Regions from separate parts of the Homo sapiens genome. Here all the other regions are linked to region 4. The links are contacts of gene promoters, found by promoter capture Hi-C in blood cells and fetal thymus (Javierre and others, 2016). All regions are on one chromosome and are shown on one strand. Each heading gives the region's core, a stretch centred on a gene start or on the middle of the fragment in contact. The rest is flanking DNA. Distances are from core to core; before and after follow the strand shown. Region 1 overlaps HNRNPD-DT (HNRNPD divergent transcript). Region 2 holds the start of SEC31A (SEC31 homolog A, COPII component). Region 3 holds the start of JADE1 (jade family PHD finger 1). Region 4 holds the start of REST (RE1 silencing transcription factor). Region 5 holds the start of ZCCHC4 (zinc finger CCHC-type containing 4).

Region 1 (2,700 bases), core at 70-2,569, about 25 Mb after region 4:
GCGACAGAGCGAGACTCCGTCTCAAAAAAAAAAAAAAAAAAAAAGTTTAGGTATTTTCCACTGCAGTTAAACGAATTTGTATTAATTGGACACTATCCAAAAATCTCAAAGGAAGATTATAAGTAAGTTTTATTAATCAAGTTAGTAGAATTTACATTACAGAATAATTAAAACTCAAGAATACAGGTCAAATTCTGAAAACGTCCTAAAAATATAATCTTACCAAACTCCCGTAATAATCAAGTCACATAAAGGTAATACCAAGAATGTTTACCGTAAAGTGGTAGTGACTCCACATTTGTCTCCACCTGCCAGAATATTAGCAAAGGATAAAGTGGATATGGTGCTCAAACCATATATTCCGGGTTAGATACAACTAAGATGATTGACTGAAGGGAAGTCTGTTTAATCTTTTCTGGCTCAAGTGACGGTAATTGTCATTTATTTTGATCTTAAGATATCATTAGACATACCCACCTTTTGGTAATAGTGACTTTTCCAAAAGGTTCATTTTGATTTCACATGTAGCTTAGGAGCTTCTGGAATTCTTAGAATTTATGTCAAAAGTTCCAGACAACCTAGGAATGATTTTAAAGCTAACACCTTTACATGCTTTATGAGGATGTATGATGTCCATATCACTGATAGTCCTTGATATTATGGCCAAGATCTCTACATCCAGGATGTGCTCCTGCATCCACACAATATTCTTCTTGGAACTCACTTAACTTCTGGCAGGCGTGGTGGCTCACGCCTGTAATCCAGCACTTTGAGAGGCCAAGTCGGGAGGATTGCTTGCCTCAAGGAGTTGGCCATCAGCCTGGGCAACGGAGTGAGACCTTGCCTCTACAAAAAGTCAGAAAATTAACCTGGCATGGTGGTTCCTGTTGTTCCAGCTACTCCTGAGGCTGAAGTGGGAGGATCACTTGAACCTGGAAGGTGGAGGCTGCAGTGAGAAAGGCAGAGTGAGACCCTGTCTCAAAAACAAACAAATGTTACTATTTATGTGAAGTCTTCCCAGGCTTCCTGAGGCAGAATTAATGATCCCTTTTCACAGCCCTTTATCTTTACCTCTGTTATTCTTCATTGTTTTCTACTAGACCATGAGTTCTTAGAAAACAGTGTCTTCTATGTATCTCTCCCTCCCTAACACACTCTCACACACACATAAACACAGCAGCAGTATATCCACACTATGTAATTGCCAGTTGAATTATTGAATGACAAAATAATAAGTATGTCCAACTTGTTAGATTAAGGGGCTTTCAAGCAAACTAGGTGTTCTTCCAGGGACTTGAAAGTCTCCTCTCCACACCATCTCATTTCATCTCTGGCATTAAAAAAAAAAAAACTTTTGGCCAGGTGCTGTGGCTCATGCCTATAATCCCAACACTTTGGTAGGCCAAGGAGGGATGATTGCTTGAGCCCAGGAATTTTTTTTTTTTTTTTTTTTTTTTTGAGACAGAGTTTCACTCTGTTGCCCAGGCTGGAGGTGCAATGGCGCGATCTCGGCTCACTCCCGGGTTGACGCCATTCTCCTTCCTGTCTCCCAAGTAGCTGGGACAACAGGCACCTGCCACCACGCCCGGCTAATTTTTTTTGTATTTTTAGTAGAGACGGGGTTTCACTGTGCTAGTCAGGACGGTCTCGATCTCCTGACCTCGTGATCCGCCCGCCTCGGCCTCCCAAAGTGCTGGGATTACAGGTGTGAGCCACCGCGCCCGGCCAAGCCAGGAATTTGAGACCAGCCCCGGCAACATAGCAAAACCTATCTCTACAAAAAATTTAAAAAATCAGTTCCTGCCCACCCAGGGACGCCTTGGGTTGTGTTTAACCCGTTTCTGTTGCCGGGTGCGGTGGCTTACGCCTCTAATCCCAACACTTTGAGAGTCCGAGGTGGGTGGATCACTTGAGGCCGGGAGTTCGAGAGCAGCCTGGGCAATGTGGTGAAACCCCATCTCTACTGAAGATACAAAAATAAGCTGGGCGTGGTGGCGCACGCCTGTAATCCTGGCTACTGGGGAGGCTGAGGCAGGAAAATTACATGAACCCACAAGGCAGAGGTTGCAGTGAGTAGAGACTGCACCACTGTACTCAAGCTGGGTGACAGAGTGAAACTATGTCTCAAAAAAAAAAAAAATTAGCTGGGTGTGGTGGCGTGAGCCTGTGGTTCCAGCTACTCAGGAGGCTGAGGTGGGAAGATTGCTTGAATCAAAAATTCAAGGCTGCAGTGAGCAGTGATGCCACTTCATTCCAGTCTGGACGACAGAGCAAGAGCCTGTTTCAAAAACAACAACAACAACGAAACGCTTCTTCAAATGACCTGGTGATGGATGTATGAAATTTCTTGAGAATGAAATGAAACTTTTTGTTACACATTCATAGGTAACAATTAATTGTTTAAGTGGCTGGAGATGCTGTATTGGACTTGCCCCAAACAGTAGAAGGAAGGAATATCCCCTGTCAATGTACAGACATGAACTATTCCATTGCTTTAGGAGATTCCCAGTGTGTTTCAGATAACACACTAAAATGCTAGATCATCATTGAATTTAGCCTTTGTAAAGCAATTATTCTCTGCAGCAAAAACTAAAGTACTTGTAAAAGGCCAAAAATGAAGTCTGTTTGAGAATTAAACTGGAATCACTTTTACCTAGAACAAGATGCATACACCTAAGCCAAGGAAGTCAGTTTTCATCT
Region 2 (2,700 bases), core at 60-2,559, about 26 Mb after region 4:
AGGTACAGAAAACGCAGGACGCTGTAACAAGAACACACCCTTATCGATTAAATACAGTTATAACTGCCCACAAAGACAACCAAATTTCAGTTTTCTATAGTTAGAAAAAATAAGTTAGGAGAAAGGATTTGTCACAGACTATCAGATCACTGCAACTTCAAATAGCCCTACGTAAAATTAATTCCTTAAGCGCAAGAAAAAATTTATAATGCCCACAAGTCCAGGCAATATTTTGGTTTATTTTACAACAGCCCCGTAATTTAACAACTTATTAGCAAAAACATGTAACACTTAATGAGACTGCCCTCAAAGTACAGGCTGCGCCTGGCTACCACCGTCCTTAAAATAATCCTAGTTAAATGACAGTAGACGTCAGTTCAAACCTATGAACCTTTAAATCTGGCAATAGTTCAAGTACAAAAAAAAATCCTAACCAAAGCCAAAGTAATCCTGAGATTTTTTTTCCTCTCCTCACCCTCGGGGACCGCACCTCTTTGTGCACAAGGGTCTGAAAGTCTCCTAATCTCAAACTCCAGTTACCAGCCCGGCTACTACTCCCCGGCAAGACACTGTCGCCAGCCTCGGGTGGCTTTTGCTCAGCAGTGGAGACGTCGGCGAATGCGGACGGGCGCGATCACTGGAGTCCAGATGCCAGGCGTTGTTCCGCCGGGCCCGAAACCAAGACTAGGGGCGCGCCGTCACCAGAGACCGGGCCTCAGGCTGGTGCGGGGCAGCGGAGACCCAGGCTGCGGTCCCAGTTTTGGCCTGGGCTCTACCTCAAAGCTTAAGGACCGGCGAAGAGGACAAAAAGCAACGGGCGGACGCACCTGGCGAGGACCTTCGGCAGCCGGATCCTGCGTTAGTGCAGCGCTCGTCGGACTCTCCCAGCATTCGCCGCCGCCCCTCCTCCCCGGCCAGGGCCACCTCCACGTTCCGTTCCAACGTGGCAGCCGCAGCCGCAGCCACGCCCTGCGCCCAACACTTCCGGGAGCGACATCTTTCCCCGCCCACCCGACGCACAGCCCGCCACGGCACTTCCGGGACCGGCGGTAGCCTGGGAGGCGGGGTACGGCTCCGCTGGTTGGTGGCGCTCTGCGGTCATCGCGCCCCGGCGATCGTAGAAACCCTTTTCTGAGGGGCGGCGCGCAGAATGTGGATGGGGTAGCCAGGACTAGTGGGTAAAGGACTAGTGCAGAGGGTGTCCCCGTCTGGCCGAATAACCGCCGTGGCCCGCAGGAACGCCACGTAGCACTAGTCCTGTGAGGCGTCGGCAGCCCCTGGCGACACTGCCCGCGCCAAACCAGGTGGAAAATCGGGCTGCAAGGGCTTTATTGTAATTTGTGACTGAGTTCTTAAAATTACCCACTTGATTGCACATTCTGGCGTTTTGAGAACTTATACAAAGTGAAACAATCTGGGCATTCCCAAAGGCTATTGTGGACAAAGAGGTATAGATGGGGTGTTATATTAATTCCAATTAGTACCGTTTCATACTTGTTACTATCCCATGGTATTGAGACCCGGTAGCACTCACCTTCTGCCACTGTTTCTCCACAACCTCAAATCTAATTAGATGCGTTGCCTAAGTGTACTTTTAGTTTAGGGAGGAATTATTTTACAGCAAGGTGAAGCCAAAGGAAAATCACTTGCTAAATTACCAGAAATTGGATTCAACCCAGATCTCCTAACTTCTAGACAAGTTCTTTTCTCATTACATCTAGCATTCAAAGCCAACTCTTGCACTTTGGGTAGCTAAAGCAGAAGGATCCTGCCCCTTGAACAGCAGCAGTGTTAACATTCCCACAGTCAGCTACATCTTCTGTAACATTCCATCTGAAGCTTGCAGCTTCATAAGACAGCTTAACATCAATTCACGCCAACTTCTGAAATAATGAACCCAACTTTTACTGGTAGTAATATATTCTCTTTCAGTCTTCTAATTACCATTTTCTTTCAACGCAGTAACTAAGGTTATCACTTTGGCCTGAATGCTAGTCAAACTGATTGGGATTTGTTTTTGATTAGTCTTCAATTCAAACAAGTAAATGCTCCATTTCAACCGCAAGCAGCTTTCTGTTCCTAGTGCAATTAAAACTGAAAGACGTTGAAGCAACTTTACCTTTTTACATTTATCAGACTTTTTCAATAGGCTTGTATTACAGCTTCATGCAGGTCTGGGTCTCAACCTATCTTTGCTTTGCTGTCACCACTTTCAAATCTAATCACATCCAATTTCACTTCCAGCATTATCACTTTTCTTTGCTGCTCTGTCCTTTGTTGACCAATTACCTCTTTTAATTATCCATTTTTATAAATGGTCACAAGTTTAATCTCTGGGGTCAAGGAGGCAACAGTACTATGCACTTTGTGCTCTGCTATCTGTGCATGAACTAAACAGATGATCAGTAACAAATCAACAAACTTTGAAAGCAAAGTAATGTAACTGGCGACTGATCATGATGCACATCTTTTTTTTGGGGGGGGGGGCACAATGATTTGTGGACTAAAGAGCTAGCAGCAAAATTTATGCAAGTTTTCTCAGTACTGTGGTAATGGAATTATTAACCACATTGTTGGACTGGTTTTATTTAACTGTGGTCACTGGTATTTATGCATATTGGAACTGTGCAAAGACTGCCTGTATCTAAAAAAAGAAAAACTCTTTAGTTCACAAAACTAAATCCAATTTAGTTAACTACT
Region 3 (2,700 bases), core at 63-2,562, about 72 Mb after region 4:
GTGTGGGATTACATGAAATCAAACCTGATATATTCAGAAAGATTCTTCCGGTGGACACATATGCCTTTTGGGTTCGATATTCAATTTTGTAATTAGTGATCACTGTTCCTATTTATTTATTTATTTATTTGAGACGGAGTTTCGCTCTTATTGCCCAGGCTGGACCACAATGGCGCATTATCGGCTCATCACAACCTCCACCTCCCGGGTTCAAGCGATTCTCCTGCCTCAGCCTCCCCAGTAGCTGGGGTTACAGGCATGTACCACCATGCCCGGCTAATTTTGTATTTTTTAGTAGAGACAGGGTTTATCCATGTTGGTCAGGCTGGTCTTGAACTCCCGACCTCAGGTGATCCGCCCACCTAGGCCTCCCAAAGTGCTGGGATTACAGGCGTGAGCCACCGCGCCCGGCCTGAATGGGAGTTTTTAATCCGTACTTTTTTCTTATTGAAGTTGAATGTCATATACCCCTCTATTTCCCTAGATGAATCCATGAAAGAAGTATGTTGCCCTCTATATGAAAAAGCAAGCTTGTCTTCTGCAGAAAATCAGTAACCACTCCTTTTTACACATAAATACCCCCAAATGAATCTCCGATGACTGATCTGATACTAGTCTGCAATTCTAGTTTTAGCATTAGGCTCACTCCTCATATTTGGGAGAAGATGTCCAATTCTGTAGTAATGTGTAACATAAAGTGGTGTCAATTTATAAATAATATCTTCTAATGAATTAATGCTCATTTGCAATGATCACTTCCATACAAATTTAGGTAAAGATGTTATTCAGAATTGGATTCTCTCTATTTAAAAATGTCATCCTAATGTGCAACTCCCTAAAACTGTTACTACAAACAACTATTTTGCCACTCAGCCTAAAAATAAAACCTTTCACCCAAATGACACATCTTAATAGCCATATTTTAATCTACGTAATTTTAAACTATTCTGAAAGAATCCATTTCTAGATGTCAGACAAGAGTTGAAACTGGGACAGCAGTTTGAAGGGGCTAATTTAAAAACCCACTTGCTTGGAGACACCTCAAGAATTTCTAGGCTCACAAGGTGGGTGAAGTAAGGAAAGAGACTAAGAGCTGAACAGTGCCGTTCTTTGCGAGCCCCCACTGGCGCAGGCTGAGCCGGCTGCGGCTAGGGCTGCGAAGAGTTAACGAGGGACCGAGCCCCAGCGCCGCGGGCTCCCCGCATGCTCCCTCCGCCCTCCCGTCCCCACCCTCTCGTTTTGGCAAGGGATTAAAGTGCTCCCCCCTGTGGCAGCAGTGACCCAGAAATGAGTTTGATTCACATAGTCCTTCCTCCATAACAAGCCAAACGCCAGACCGAGAGTGCCTCCGTGCGCGAGTGCCCGGTGTGTGCGCGCCGGCGAGAGCAGGGGCCCGCCCGGCTCCCCGCCCGCCGCGGCCCGAACTCATGCAGCTCCGAGCGAGCGAGCGGCGCCCAGCCCAGCGCCTCGGCCGAACCCCTCCGCAGCAGGTACGCGCGCGGGCCGCGGGGGGCGCGCGGGGTGGGCGCGCCGCGCGTGTGTCCGCGCGTGTCCGCGTGTGGGTCCGTGTGCGCGTCCCGGTCCCGCGGCGGCGACGGCGGCGGCGGCGGCGGCGGCTGCAGGACGAGCCGAGAGGCTCAGCCATATTTGATGGTTTTGTTGCTTTGCTCGGGAGTTCTCGGGAGTAATTTAATGCCGAAGGTCGCTGCCTAGTGGAAATAATATAATACGTCATTAATATGGCGCCAAAAGATTGGGTTCTCGATCTGTAGCGAGGAGGGAGGGAGGCAGCCGCTGAGCGCAGCGTTACTATCCCACCAGTAACTTGGGCATTGCCGGGGCGGGGGCCGGAGGAGGAGGAGAGGATGATTTTTGGATCCTGAGAATTGATCTATGTTGGATCAGTAAGTTTTATTATGATTTTTTTTTTCAAATTTGGGGGGCTGAAGACTTAGAGCTATTTCTTCTTTTGGATTTGCGAAGAACATGCGGTTTTCAGGTGAATCATCAATTAAACGCGTTTAGGAGCAGAAGCCCAGTTTAAGTTGGCTTTAGTTTATAGGTTTTTTTTTTTTTTTTTTTTTTTTAGAAAGCCAAAGTGCATTAGGCTGCATGAAAGTGGAAAGCATAGTAGCAACTTGGTAGACAGATGGCAATGGCAGAACGCAGGTTCGCGTACATATATGAATCCAGAGTGTGTGAGACCGTGTGTGTGGTGGGACTGTATTTGTCCAAACATAGGTGTGCGTAGGTACATCTGTGTGTGGTGGCCGCAGCCCTGGCTCTTGTCACCGCGTCACCACATGTCCAAAATATTCATTGCATCAATTCAAGGGCAGTGAGAGGGGGGTGGGGGTGGGGGTGGAGGGACAGTTTGGCAATTAGATTCTTCCGAACTGGGCTTCCAGTGATCAGATCTTTTACTTACAGCGCGACTGCTTGTAAAGTGTAAAACCCCTTAATCGATGAAATGGGGTAGGAGTTGGCGTTGGTAGAGCAAAGTACCGATTAATCGTGAACTTAAAGGGGATTGCAAATTGCAACCTTTGGCACCATCTGCAAATTGTGGGGGTGGGGTCTCTTGGTCTCCTTGCTTCCTTAAATGAACGTGTAGTGTGTACCCCGGGACTGCAAGTTGCAGAGCCCTTCAGTGCACGTGTCTTGTGCCTGTGAGTCTGTGTTTGCGAGTTGGGGGCTGTT
Region 4 (2,818 bases), core at 90-2,589:
AAATGAAGAGTCTGGAAGCCCTGCCCTAAGAGAAACAAATAAAGGAACTTCAAAGAGAAGGAAGTGAGGTACCCTGAGGAGAAGCTGGGATGTCTTAACAACTGCTTTGGGATTTTGAGCTTGCCCTTTTCACTGTGTAGAGTGTTCCTTGCCCTACTTTCCACCTGTTGAAGTTTTCCTCATTCTCCAAGGTCAGACTGAATACATCTACTGTGAAAAGTTTCTAGAACCTCTTGGGATCCATCTTCCTACTGGCAAACCCCCATAGCACTTGCTACTTATGTTGTAATACCAAGCAATAGTCAGACTTATCTAGGTCAAGTTAAGTAGGGGCTTGAACGCCACACTAAGGGGTTTAAGCTTTAAGCTTGTAGTCATGGGGAGCCACTATGCTTCTGAGGACAGGTGTGACTTACGACTGACGTTTAGGAAGGTATCAAAGGCAGACTGAGAAGCTCTTTCAGGTGTGAAAGGGGGTGGAATTACTCTCTCTCTGTTCTTTTTTGTTGTTTTTGTTTTTGTTAGCACATGACTATGGGCTAGGCATTCCGCTTGGTTATCCCGCTTCATAGACGTGAGCCCGGTTACTCCGACACACCGTGGCCCCAGGCAGCCTCCCCGTCCTCACCACCTTTTCTTCTGTCATCTGAGGGTAATTCCTCCCCTGCAGTCGTGCTTTCCGGGCTCAGCAATGACCTGCTACCTGCCACGTCTAGGGATCTGTCCCCTCAGTCCTCACGCTCACGCTTTCTGAGTCCATAACCTCCTTCCTGAAACGTTTTCTTCTCACTTCTCCCAAACTGACTGCATTCCCCCTCCGGTAGTTTGAAATTTGGAAGACTTTTTTTTTTTTTTTTTTTTTTTACCGCAGACGCTTAAAACGAAGCTTAATTAGTCAAGGACAGCTATGGGTGGAGACTTGAAGAGATCTGAAGGGTATCTTGGAGCGCTTTAGACTTGAGAGGCCGGTGACAATAGCTCTAAAGAGACCCGTCAAAGCCTGCGGATTCTTCTTTTAACAGCTCTATTCTCATGCATGCACGCCAGGGCTGGGGGGAACTTTTGTTGTTTGTTTGTAATAGAAATCGAGAAAGGGAGTGGGGCCCGCCTCTTTTCTGACCTAAGGGCAGGAGTGAGGGGCCGGGAGGATTACGGGCGGCTCCCCCTAGACGCGCCCCCAGGCGAGCTGGAGACTGGGGCACTCCTTGCTTGGTAGAGGGGCGGGGCGCGCCTAGCGGCCACGCGCGCGGGCGTCGGAGGGGGCGTGTCTCGCGGGCGCGCGCGGGCGTCGGAGGGGGCGTGTCCCGCGGGCGGTGGCGGCGGCGGCGGCGCGGACTGGGTGCGCGGCGCAGCGTCCTGTGTTGGAATGTGCGGCTGCCGCGAGCTCGCGGCGCAGCAGCGGAGCGAGCGCCGCCGAGGCCCGGGGCCCCAGACCCTGGCGGCGGCTGCCGCAGCCGAGACGGCAGGGCGAGGCCCGGAGGCCTGAGCACCCTCTGCAGCCCCACTCCTGGGCCTTCTTGGTCCACGACGGCCCCAGCACCCAACTTTACCACCCTCCCCCACCTCTCCCCCGAAACTCCAGCAACAAAGAAAAGTAGTCGGAGAAGGAGCGGCGACTCAGGGTCGCCCGCCCCTCCTCACCGAGGAAGGCCGGTAAGTGGGGCGCTGGGCTGGGGGCTCGGTCAGGGTGGGGGAGGGCCGCCCGGGCGGCGGCAGTGGCGGGACGGGGAGGGCGCGGAAGGACGCGGAGTCAGGCGCTGTCCAGGGCTGATTTGCAGATACTGTGGCTCCGGCGGCGGCGGCCCCGCCGGGCGGGGGCTGGCGGCCGAGCAGGATCGGGTTACACAGCAGCCGCCCGGGGGCTGGGGGCGTTTGTTGGGAGCAGCGCGTCGCCTGGACCCCCTCCCCACTGGAGGCTGGGACGCCGCCTCCGCGCTGGCCCGGACGCTCCACCGAGTCAGGTCCTTTGAGGCCAAGGAGCGGAGCTGCTCGGGCCCGTAGTCCTGAAACTTCCTCTGCTTCCTCCTCCTGCCCCCGGGTCCCACCGCAGCCCCGCGCCGGCCCGCGGCCCTCCTGGCCCCCTCCCCCAGGGCCTCTCCCTGTCGCCGGAAGGCGCCGTTGAGTGCGGCCGGGCGGGTTGAGTCAGCCCCGGGGCCCGGGCGGTTCCGCCTGCGGGGCTGGACAGCGATTTCTGCGCTTCAGCCGTCCGGCGCCGCTGGCCCCCGCGTCCGGCCACCCGACCGCTGGAGCTGGCGGGGCTGGGGCGCGCGTCCTGCCGGGCGCCGTGGGGGAGTGAAGTTCGCAAACTTCCGGGGCGCGGGGGTGGCGGCTGGCCCGTGTGGGGGCCCCCTCCGGCGCTCGGAGCCCGACGCCTCGCGAGGGCGCCCGCGGAGCCTCCCCGGCCCTGGGCGTTGGGCGAGCCCCGGGGCGGTCGGAGGGGCCCGGGGGCGGTCGGAGAAGCCCGGACGCCGGCTGCGCGGTAACTTTCCGTCCTCTCCCGGGACGGGGGCCCTAGGGCTGGGGAGGGGGCTGCCTGGACTCGGGGAGGACTGGTTCCGGCCAAACAGCGCCTCGAGCTTGATCCCCTCCCCCGTTTTAGTGTTGGAGAGCGCAGGAAAAGGCTCAGGACGAGTGTCGGGGCGACTCCCGCGAGTTGGTGTGTAAATGTGTGCAGTGAGCGGGCCGAGGCGAGAGGAAGCGAGAGCGCCCGAGTTTGCAAAGAGCTGCTTTGTGTTTGGTATTTTGAGAAAATGGCCGAATGCCTATTTCAGTTAGGAATGCCGCCGCCGAGGCAGGCGCTGGTGGCAGCAGCACGGAG
Region 5 (2,836 bases), core at 238-2,737, about 32 Mb before region 4:
ATAAGACTTGAAATTGAGTAGGCTGATTCCTCCCACTTCATTATTCTTTTTCCAAAATTGTTTTAGCTATTTTAGTTCCCTTGCCTTTCCATATAAATTTCAGAATATTGTCTAAATGTACAAAAAGAATCTGGCTGGGATTTTCATAGCAATTGTGCTACACCTGTATAAGCATTAAACCTGGGGAGAACTGATATCTTTACTATGTTGAGTCTTCTGATTTATGAATGCAGTATGTTTCTGCATTTGTTTATTCTTTGATTTTTTTTTTTTTTTTTTAAGACGGAGTCTCACTCTGTCACCCAGGCTGGAGTGCAGTGGCACAATCTCGGCTCACTGCAAGCTCCGCCTTCCGGGTTCACGCCATTCTCCTGCCTCAGCCTCCCGAGTAGCTGGGACTACAGGTGCCCGCCACCACGCCTGGCTAATTTTTTTGTTTTTGTATTTTTAGTATTTTTAGTAGAGACGGGGTTTCACGGTGTTAGCCAGGATGGTCTCGATCTCCTGACCTTGTGATCCACCTGCCTTGGCCTCCCAAAATTCTGGGATTATAGGCGTGAGCCACCGTGCCCGGCTATTCTTTGATTTTTAAAAAACTTTAAAAATTGCTTATTTATTTTAGAGATGTCGTCTCGCTTTGTTGCCCGGGCTGGTTTCGAACTCCTGGATTCAAGCAATCCTCCCTCCTTGGCCCCCCAAAGTGCTGGGATTACAGGTGTGAGCCACTGCACTCAGCCTTGATTTTTTTTAATCAAGCATTTTGGAGTTTTTAGCATACATAAAGCTCTGTACATATTTCGTTAGATTTACACCTATTTCATTTATTTGAGTGATTGTAAGTGGTATTCTATTTTTTAGTGTTCTTGTGATCATTGCTAGTATTTAGAAATCCAGTTGATGTTTGTGTGTTTATCTCATATCCTGCAACCTTGCTGAACTCAGTTTAAACCGGAGGTGTTTTCCTGATAGATTCTTTCGGATTTTTAAAATGTGGACAATCATGTCATCTGCAAATCAGGACGGTTTTCTTTCTTTCTTATGTATAAATGTCAATGAGTATGCAACTATGATGTGCAACTTTCAGCATTGTCCAAAAGTTACAGAGGATGATGCAGTGACTGTGACTTTGAAAAACAAAGAATGATCCTTAAATCACAGCTGCTGCAGCCATTTCAGCTATTTGGCAGAGGTGGTAATGCTGCCTTTTGGACCTACAATACAACCAAGTCTTTGTTCGAATCATCTCACTTCCTGGCTATATTCTTAAGAAAGGAGGGTGCTTCATGCGCTGAGCTCATGGCACAGGTCCCGCAAGTGACCTGCGAGCCCCACCGCTAGGGGCCGCTTAGGTGCAGCCCCCAGGTGGGCGGGGACTGCGTTTCGGGGCGTGGCCTCCGCCGCGGCAGCCCCCGCCCAAGCTCCTCCTAAGCGCCTGGGGGCGCTGTGGGTCGCTTTGGGTCGCGGGGGCGCTCTTTCTCAGCATTCTTGTTTCGTACTGAGGCTTTCGGGACGGCGGCGGGAAGATGGCGGCCTCCAGGAATGGGTTTGAAGCCGTGGAGGCAGAGGGCAGCGCAGGGTGCCGGGGAAGCTCGGGAATGGAGGTGGTGCTTCCTTTGGATCCTGCCGTCCCCGCCCCGCTGTGCCCTCACGGTGGGTCAGAGTCTGGGCTCAGCCTAACTGCCGGGCGCTGAGGGTGTGAGTTGGCTTGGAAGTGGCTTTTGGGGCTCCTGTATTTTTACCCGCCTCTTTCCCTCACCAGTGTGCTGCCTAGAAAATACTCCTTCCTCGGAACGCGGTGTTTTTCAACTTACTTGAGAAACATTCAGAGCAAGTCTCCACTCTTGTGGTTTTGGCTCCAGGACTATTTCATCTCTTTTGGGGGGAAGGGGCAGAAAAGTAGGCAAAGAGAAGAATGCATGGTATTGAATAGTTCTCGTTGACAAGTACTTGGGGATTTCATTTGTTGATTTGCTCTCCCTTCAAAAATAAAAAATTAGGGAGAAAAACAGTGTAATTCTTGCCTGCGAACTAGACTCAGTTTTTCTCTAACTTACAGAAAGTGGGCGTTTCCAGCTCAAAGCTCAGGTTTTCACTGCAAGGGTAACCGCGCAAGAGATGTCAAAGTCCTCAATTCTCTGAGTCCCTTCCTTGTTTTAGTCTCAGGTTTGTAATATTCACAACGTAGACAGCAACTGTACCGACAATAGCATTTTCTTTCTGAAGAGACCGGTTTTCAAAAATTATTTATAAGTAGTCACTGCCGGAATGTTGTAACAGAGAGAAAAGAAACATTCATTAAACACAGAGAAGCCGGCGTGGTGGCGTGCACCTGTAGTTCCAGCACTTGGGGGGCCGAGGCGGGCTGATCGCTTGAGCCCAGGAGTTTGAGACTAGCCCGGGCAAAAATGATGACACTCCGTCTACAAAAAAAGAAAAACAGCTGGGGACACGCAACTGTAGTCCCAGCTACTCGGGATGCTGAGGCGGGAGAATCGCTTGAGGCTAGGAAGCAGGATCTCAGTGAGCCATGATTGTGCCAGTGCGCTTCAGCCTGGGCGACAGAGGGAGACCCTGTCTCAAGAAAACAAAACAAAAAACCCTAACAAAACAAAAAACAACCAACCAAAGAGATGGATTTAATTATGATAAATTGTGCCTAAAGCTCAAACAAATTTTATTTAAGGGCAGCGAAAACTAAGAACTTGACGTAGATGACCATTACTTGACACTTTTTTTTTTTTTTTCTATTCTGGAACTAGGACCCACTCTTCTGTTTGTAAAGGTGACCCAAGGGAAAGAAGAAACTCGGAGGTTTTATGCCTGTTCAGCCTGTAGA

What was found. Contacts are between HindIII fragments. The CHiCAGO score rates a contact against its expected background, and 5 or more counts as called.
Region 1: a contact is called between a fragment that was not itself captured here and the fragment with the promoter of REST in region 4, in 1 of 17 cell types (fetal thymus). The highest score is 7.9, in fetal thymus.
Region 2: a fragment that was not itself captured here is called in contact with the fragment with the promoter of REST in region 4 in 1 of 17 cell types (fetal thymus); the score reaches 14.0 in fetal thymus.
Region 3: a contact is called between the fragment with the promoter of JADE1 here and the fragment with the promoter of REST in region 4, in 1 of 17 cell types (total B cells). The highest score is 5.5, in total B cells.
Region 5: a contact is called between the fragment with the promoter of ZCCHC4 here and the fragment with the promoter of REST in region 4, in 1 of 17 cell types (total B cells). The highest score is 6.3, in total B cells.

What each region holds. Positions count from the first base shown.
Region 1 is chr4:82,375,501-82,378,200 of GRCh38, forward strand. All of the region lies in intron 1 of HNRNPD-DT (HNRNPD divergent transcript), which reads left to right. Among named protein-coding and RNA genes, the nearest start is that of HNRNPD-DT, 2.3 kb to the left of the region's middle. The HindIII fragment of the contact is 3,405 bases long and covers 1-2,700 here.
Region 2 is chr4:82,890,261-82,892,960 of GRCh38, forward strand. SEC31A (SEC31 homolog A, COPII component) reads right to left here and starts at 893. Exons shown (of 27, transcript NM_001077207.4): 1 at 828-893. The HindIII fragment of the contact is 1,056 bases long and covers 782-1,837 here.
Region 3 is chr4:128,808,388-128,811,087 of GRCh38, forward strand. JADE1 (jade family PHD finger 1) reads left to right here and starts at 1,313. Exons shown (of 11, transcript NM_199320.4): 1 at 1,313-1,490. RefSeq lists silencers at 1,136-1,615, 2,126-2,245 and an enhancer at 1,716-1,825. The HindIII fragment of the contact is 6,052 bases long and covers 529-2,700 here.
Region 4 is chr4:56,906,561-56,909,378 of GRCh38, forward strand. It overlaps REST (RE1 silencing transcription factor), which reads left to right and starts at 1,340. Exons shown (of 4, transcript NM_005612.5): 1 at 1,340-1,653. RefSeq lists enhancers at 797-1,726, 2,657-2,818 and silencers at 823-1,117, 1,217-1,606, 1,717-2,566. The HindIII fragment of the contact is 2,443 bases long and covers 885-2,818 here.
Region 5 is chr4:25,311,287-25,314,122 of GRCh38, forward strand. ZCCHC4 (zinc finger CCHC-type containing 4) reads left to right here and starts at 1,488. Exons shown (of 13, transcript NM_024936.3): 1 at 1,488-1,650; 2 at 2,760-2,836. The coding sequence starts at 1,524. RefSeq lists enhancers at 1,142-2,018, 1,547-1,606 and silencers at 1,267-1,336, 1,344-1,548. The HindIII fragment of the contact is 7,197 bases long and covers 1-2,836 here.